2 separate regions of the Homo sapiens genome follow, and region 2 is linked to region 1. Evidence: promoter capture Hi-C in 16 types of primary human blood cells and fetal thymus (Javierre and others, 2016). All regions are on one chromosome and are shown on one strand. The core of a region is centred on a gene start or on the middle of the fragment in contact, and the rest is flanking DNA. Distances in the headings are between cores, read along the strand shown.

What was found. Contacts are between HindIII fragments. The CHiCAGO score rates a contact against its expected background, and 5 or more counts as called.
Region 2: a fragment that was not itself captured here is called in contact with the fragment with the promoter of PXN in region 1 in 1 of 17 cell types (endothelial precursors); the score reaches 5.2 in endothelial precursors.

The regions. Positions count from the first base shown.
Region 1 is chr12:120,263,737-120,267,536 of GRCh38, forward strand. PXN (paxillin) reads right to left here and starts at 1,994. Exons shown (of 15, transcript NM_001385981.1): 1 at 1,881-1,994. The coding sequence starts at 1,893. RefSeq lists silencers at 1,712-1,861, 2,022-2,301. The HindIII fragment of the contact is 6,296 bases long and covers 1-3,800 here.
Region 2 is chr12:120,151,301-120,155,100 of GRCh38, forward strand. It overlaps GCN1 (GCN1 activator of EIF2AK4), which reads right to left. Exons shown (of 58, transcript NM_006836.2): 31 at 3,670-3,740; 32 at 2,444-2,609; 33 at 1,913-2,107; 34 at 1-91. Among named protein-coding and RNA genes, the nearest start is that of MIR4498, 2.3 kb to the right of the region's middle. The HindIII fragment of the contact is 3,218 bases long and covers 416-3,633 here.

The DNA of each region.
Region 1 (3,800 bases), core at 744-3,243:
TACAATCCCCTCTCCCGTATACAGTACTCTCTTTCCTTTCAGAACTCAGTTTCCTGGCCCTAAATGGAAGACTGTCAGAAGACAGGAATTCCAGATTTCGATGGCGAGCTCTACAAAGACTTTCTCAGTCCTTGAAACAGCACGGGGACTGCCGAGAAGCAACAGAACTGCACCAGCACTTTAGAAACTGTAACTTTGCTCCCAGTTCCCACTGGGAAAGCACTCAGACTCTTAGATCCTGGTTCAAAGAACATCCCCCAGCCTCCTTCCAGCTGAGCTATTTTTATGTGAAAAAAAAAAATACCTGCCTGGAAGCCATGCCAACCTTGAGCACACTGGAAAAATGGGTGCCAAGCCTGACCCAAAGGCAGAACCACGCTTGGCAGCCATCTCACTCTGCAAAACAGGCAGGACCCTACACCAACCCCAGCTCCAGGATCTCAGGGGCACCCTGATCCCAAAAGGAAGCTGGAGGGAAGCAGTCAAGTCCAGCACCTACAAATAGCCAGTCTTAACTTAGTGCCCGGCGCTGCTTGGTAGAGGTCCATCAGTCCTGTCTGCTGAATCTACTCCTCAGAGCCTGGGACAGAGGAAGCATCAGTGGTCACACAAGCCACCCACAGTCCAGAGAGGAAAGACAAGGCTCCTGCAGAGAAGAAACGTTGCCCCCCTCCTCACCTCCCAAGCTCAGGGCCCTCCAGCTACAGGCGTGAAGGGGAGGGAGAGACAGCGAATCCTCCCACTCCTGCGTTCACGCCACCCAAGGCATTCCTAGAACCCTGGCACCAACCCCCTTGGGTTTAGAGTCGGCTTCCAGGAGATACTTTCTTTCCCCTAACACCAGATCAAGACTGGACTGAAAAGAGTAGCCTTGGGGCTCCAATAACAGGAAAACAGTAAAACTCTGTTCTGGGCATCCTGTCCTCTTTCACCTGCGTGGCTTCCAGCAGGGCCTGACGCAGAGAGGGTGGAGGGGACTCTGCTAGCCAGGACACGTTCAGGGATGGTCATACCTTGGGGCCCACCTTCCACCTCATTCCCCTGGCATTTCACCAGAATCTAGGGGTGGGGAGAGAATCAGGACTCCCAAATTACCGTTCTAGACTTAGATACCATGGTAGACGGACTGGTCTGTGAATTGAGGGGCTGGTCCACAGAGCGGGGAGGTCAGTGAGAGAAAATGAGTGATGGGTCCTTGAAACGGGGTGACCAGATTTGAAGTGGGGGGTCAGAAGAGCAGGCAGACTGGGAAACTTGTCTTTGAAATGGGGGTGTGGTCATCACACGCTCATCTCTAGCTTTTGCATCTGACTTGTGAAATGAAAGGGGTGGGCTCCGAGGGGTTATCCCTGAAGGGGGGTGCTAGTCTGTGAAGTGGGGGGCGGCCCTGGAGGGACGGGGAGCAGGTCGAGGAAATGAGGGAGCAGCCCATGAGATCGGGCAGCTGCTCCCCGAGTTGGGCGGTCGATCTGTGAGGTGGGGGTGGGGAGAGGTCTGCGAGGTGAGGGTCCCGTAGCTGACGAGGTGGTCTGCCGCAGGAAGTCTCGTCCCTGCAGCGGACGGGGTGGGTCCCTGAGGGGCGGGCTGGTCCCTGGGGCCCTTCTGGGAGATGGTGATGGGTCCCCGAGGTCGGGGGTCCAGAGGTGAAGCCGTCCCAGACGGGGGGTCGCTGCTGTGCGGTCGGTGCCGGGGCCGGCCTGGCCCGAGACTAAGGCCCGGTTAGGGATCCCAGCCCCGCGGAGCCCCGGCCGGCAGGGACAGGAGCTGAGGCCGGGGCCGCCGAGGGTGGGATCCCGCGGCCCCTGCCGCTCGCTGGCGCCCTCCTGGCCCCAAGCTGCGCGCCTCTCGCCTCCTCCTCCCTCGGCCTCCCGCTCACTCACCGAGGTCGTCCATGGCCGGACCACGGGCGCCGGCTCAGGGTCGCGCTAGCTGCCCGTCCCGGGGCCGCTCGTCTATGCCCCGCAACTTTTCCGCCGCGAGCCTCGGCCCGGAACGGAACGCGCCGCCGCCGCGCGCGCCCGCGCCCGCGCCCGCCGCGCGCCCCGCCCCCGGCCGCCCCCTGTGCACGCGCGCCCCGCCCCCGGACACCCCCGCGAGCTTGCTGGCCCCGCCCCCTGCGCACGCTGGTCCCGCCCCCGCCAAGAGCCCGGGCAGTGGGCGTCGCTGGGCGGGGCGGTGGCGCCCCCTCGCGGCTAAGCGGGCAGGTGGGCGGCTCCCAGGCCTCCAGCCACTCCCATCCATCTTTCTGTCCCTCTCAAAGTCACTTGCCTGACCCTGCGGATGACAAATCCGTCCACAGTCAGCCATGTGTCTGTGCATTCGTCAGCCACTGGGTCATCACATGCCTGTCCACTGGACAGTCAGTTTTGCCCACCTGTCCGTCTGTCACCTGTAGGTCACCACCCAGGAGGACCATAAATCAGTACCAGGCAAGGCCCGGAGCCCGTGGCTGACCTTTCCTGGGGTCGTCCTCTGGATCAATGGCAGTGCAGCTCGCAGTTCACCCTTTCTGGCCCAAACCCAATACCTGTGTGGTTCCATCTCTCTTAATATTACTTCCACACAGCCACCCTCCCTAGACACTTTTCCAAAACTGCATGGGGCAGAGGGGTCCCCAGATTAGACATTAAAGGGAAAACTACAGGAAAGTCACACCCAGTGCTCCCACACACTCGGAAATTGGGTAATAATAACAACTACCATTTATTGAGTGTCTGAATAGACAGACACTATATAGCTATTCTCTAAATTAATCCTCCTAGAGGTACTTCCCTACCCGTTGGGATGGGTGATGGCAGTTTGTGGATTTTATATAAAACTGCTCTGCAAGTACAGCTTCGAGTTCCCCTTGTCCCTCAAGAATCCAGGCCTTCTGGGTCAGATCAGGTCCTCCAGAAAGCAGATGAGATGCTGAGATAAAGCTAGGGGTAATGCCCGTGACAGAGAAGGGGAAATAAGCAGGGTTGGGCAAGGAGACTCAGATCTGACAAACAGGTCAACCCATCAGGGAATTCCAGGACAAAAAAAATGAGAAGTCTCCTTGGGCAGAAGTATCCGGGTTCCAATGCTCCCACCATGTTCAGTCATTTTATAAAGGCAGATCCAAGCAGCTTCTGTGGCTGCCACATTCTCCTATAATAAATTCAAGACCAAAGACTGTTCCTCAAACACTCTATTGCGTGGTTTTCCAGCATCTTGCACATACCTCTATTTTGTTTTAGTTTTTGTGTTTTTGTTTTTGTTTGAGATGGAGTCCCAATCTGTCGCCCAGGTTGGAGTGCAGTGGTGCAATCTCAGCTCACTGCAACCTCCGCCTCCCAGGTTCAAGTGATTCTCCTGCCTCCTGCTGGGATTACAGGCGCATACCACCATGCCTGGCTAATTTTTGTATTTTTAGTAGAGATGGGGTTTCACCATGTTGGCCAGGCTGGTCTTGAACTCCTGATCTCAGGTGATCTCCTGCCTCCTGGTGGGATTACAGGCGTGTACTACCATGCCTGGCTAATTTTTGTATTTTTAGTAGAGACAGGGTTTCACCATGTTGGCCAGGCTGGTCTTGAACTCCTGACTTCAGGTGATCCGCCCCCCTCAGCCTCCCAAAGTGCTGGGATTACAGGTGTGAGCCACCACGCCCAGCCTGTTTTTGTGTTTTTAAGACACAGTCTTGCTTTGTTGCGTAGGCTGGGATGATGAATAAGACTAACATGATGTCTACCTTCTTGAATCTAAAGGTGCACGCAAAAGAGCAAAGTGGTTAGCATGAAGGATGAGTAGCCTCGCCCCACTCCCAGCTGTGTGGA
Region 2 (3,800 bases), core at 775-3,274, 110 kb before region 1:
GCTGCTGCATAAGCCTCTGGATCATCCCTCCAGCATCCTCCTTGATGGCTGGCACAAGGGGTGGCAAGCAGCTGGCTACGGACTCCTGGACCTGGGGAAGGGCCCACCTGTCAATGCTGTGGCTCCGCTGCAGCCGTTTCATGGTTGGTGGGGGGTCTGACCATTCTACACAGCACCCACCACTAGATGTCCCAAGCCCCATCTCAGCCACTGCCTGCGGATGTCACAGGGCACCAGAGAAGCAAACAGGTATACACAGTGTTGTATACCTCTGAGGGTGCACACTACAATCTGCTGACGACAAAAGCTTTGGCCCATATGGTGCCATTTCTGGTCTAAATGGAAAACCTAGGCCTGGGCAGTGGGGCAGGGGACCAAGGAAGGGACTCTAAAGACTAAATCCACTCAGAAAGAAAGCTTCCAGAGAAGTGTGCTGCTTTGCCTCCATAAAAACAGCCCGTGTCTCTGTTTCCAAACTTGTCAAAATCACAGAGAAATTGGGCAGGGCCTTATAGGACCAGGCACAAATTGAGTGGAACCAAAAGACACTCAATCCTGCCTCCCAGCCGCAGCTCACTAAGCCCAGCTTGGGAGCAGCAACCCCGAGGCCATGCTGGCAGGTGCCCAGGTGCGACTCTTTTGCTGCTTAGGCTTTCTGACACCATATTTGACCACAATTTTGGAAACTGGTTTTCAACTGTGCATTTTTTTGGTAAAGTTTTTTGTTGTTTTTTGTTTTTGTTTTTAGAAATAGGGTCTTACTCTGTCACCCAGGCTACAGTGCAGTGGCACAATCATAATTCACTATAACCTTGAATTCCTGGACTCAAGCAATCCTATTGCCTCGGTCTCCTGAGTAGCTAGGAACACAGGCATGGCCTCCACCTCTGGCTAATTTTTAAAGTTTTTGTAGAGACAGGATCTCACTATGTTGCCCAGGCTGGTCTCGAACTACTGGCCTTAAGCAATCCTCCCACCTCAGCCTCCTAAAGCACTGGGATTATAGGCATGAGCCACCACGCCCAGCCCAACTGTTCACTTTATGAAGACACTCTAAGTGGTCCAAAATGCAAACCACACACACACGCGCACACACACACACACACACACAAAATATATATATATAAATATATATATATTTATATATATATACATGCGTGTTTTTCAAAACAAAGAAAAAGAAATTTATTTGCACTGTAGCTTAGAGGCTACATTAAAACGCACCTGTAGCCTCCTAAAGCACTGGGATTATAGGCATGAGCCACCACGCCCAGCCCAACTGTTCACTTTATGAAGACACTCTAAGTGGTCCAAAATGCAAACCACACACACACGCGCACACACACACACACACACACAAAATATATATATATAAATATATATATATTTATATATACATACATGCGTGTTTTTCAAAACAAAGAAAAAGAAATTTATTTGCACTGTAGCTTAGAGGCTACATTAAAACGCACCTGTAACACACAACCAACACATGTAGAGGGCCAGAAAAAGGCTTGACATAAGAGAAAGCCTGACCTTTTATTTTTTTTCCCTTTGGATTCCCAGTGCACGTTAGTGAATAGAAAAAATGGAACTATCTAGGAGGTCTATTAGAACAAAGTAACAAAGAAACTCCCTCTCCAGGGGCATTCTTCACTATAAACCAGGTGAGTAGAAAAAAATGAAACTATCTGGGAGGTCTACTAGAACAAAGTAACAAAGAAACTCCCTCTCCAGGAGTGTTCCTGACTATAAACCAGGCTCTCCCCTGCGAGAGGGGGTGAATCCTTAACAAGAACTGGGCTTTCAGGGCCCTGATTGTCCAACTCCACCCCTAGTATCCCACCGCCTAACCACAGCCGGGTCCCAATTCTCTAACCGACATGTGGGTCCCAGGCCAGATGGCAGGTACCTGCTGGGAGGGGGTGGAGAGGGCAGCGATGAGCTTGGCAACAATGGGCTTCACTTTGGGGTCACTCTTGTCCAGGTGCTTGGCCAGAGAGCCCATCAGGACCACCACACTCTGTCGCACAGCATCATAGCTGGCATCATTGGGCGCGTTCTTCAGGAACTCCTCGAATACTGGCAACAGCGAGTTGACGTTCTCCTGGAAAGCCAAACCCCTCAGAGCCTCAGGTCAACCCTACAGGCTGCATCTGGGGACAACAGTCCCTGCCCTGAGGACCAAGACCAAGTCTAGCTCTGGGACAGGCATCCTGACATGCCAGCCAGTGGCTCTTCCAGTTTTCTGGCAGGACTGCCACAGACTTAAAAGAATTTAACACACTATCATGGTCTTTTTGGCTCAAAGTGCTCTGCCAGGACTCTTGGCACTCAGCATTTCTGGCCCCTGCTCAGCCCTAGCGCCTGCCTCCCGTGTCTCCTTAGCGGGCTGGGACCCCCTTACCTTCCCGTGGGTGTTCCCTGGCTGGGACCCCCTTACCTTCCCATGAGTGTTGAGCGTTGCGAGGGCTGCATCCAACATGCACTTCCGGACATCTGGGTGTCGGTCATTGAGGGCATCAGGGACAAAAAACTGAAAGAGTGGCTTCACCTGAGAGCTGTCCAAATACTGGGAGAGCTTGTTGAGGGCCAACGCCAAGCCACACCTGGGAAAGAAGTGGGAGCACATCAGGAGGGGCAGTCAGGGGGCCTCCTCTGCCAGTGGAACCTCTGCTGGTGCACGGCAAGGAGAGGGAGCTTGCCTGAGGCAAACACTGTTTTGGGGGCAGAGAACAGCCTGAAGCCCACCACCCAGTGCTCACCCAATGTTCTGGAACAACCCACTTGTCATATGGAGACTTGCCATCTGCCCTGATTTTACCTCCTACTGGGTGACCAGCCCTGTGTTGGTTTCCCCAGAGAGGAATGTGAGTGCAATGCTCACCCCTCTACCTGCAAAGCAGGTTGTAAGAGAACACAGAGGTAAAAGAACCAGATGTAGAGGCCTGTGGAAGTGAACACATTCTCCAAGGGCAAAGTGTTGTTACTCTTTCCAGTCATGGAGCAAAGAATCTGTGTCCTATCCCTGGCTGATGGTCTGGAATGAAAAATAAGCCAGGATGGGCCCATACACCACCCTACACTGACACACAAGGCCTCACGGGAGTGGACACGGCCAGGATGAGCCATTCAGAGAACTAACACCCTTGCGTGTTTTGAGCCTGCTCTGTGGGAGGCAAGTGTCTTTCAATGTCCCAGTTGCTCCCAGACATCTGTCTAATCCTCCAACTGCTACTCATGGGCTCTGTGGAGAAAGGCTGGTAGCTTCTGTTATTGTGCCCTGCATATAGATGAGGAAACAGAGGCCTGGGGAAAAGGAGAAACACGCTCACGGTCACGCAGCTAGTGCAGGAGAGGACACTCTAAGGAACTTACTTAGAGTTCATTTTAATTGATTTAACTTTAGCCACATGCGGTTAGTGGCTACATCTTGGACAGTACAGCCTAGAGAGAGGTGAGGAGGCAGGTCAGAGGCTCTTCTGAAAGATGGTGCCTCACACGGTCCAATCCCACCCCTTCCAGGGGCTGATGGAACTCAGGCCTCCCCGACTCTGAGGGAGGTCCTGCTCTTTCATTAACCCATGCTGCCTCCTCACAGCACCCACCCAGCCAACCTGCCACATCTCACAAAGCTTGGAGTAGAACGAGGCTGAACAATTGTTATACCTGGCTTCCCACTGATCTGGAGGAGATTCTGAAATAACTCGTCCCAAAGCATCCAGCACTGGGGGCGGCCGCTGCAACAGACAAGTTGGTAAATGCTTTGCAACGGGCAGATCAATGACCTGGGCACCAGG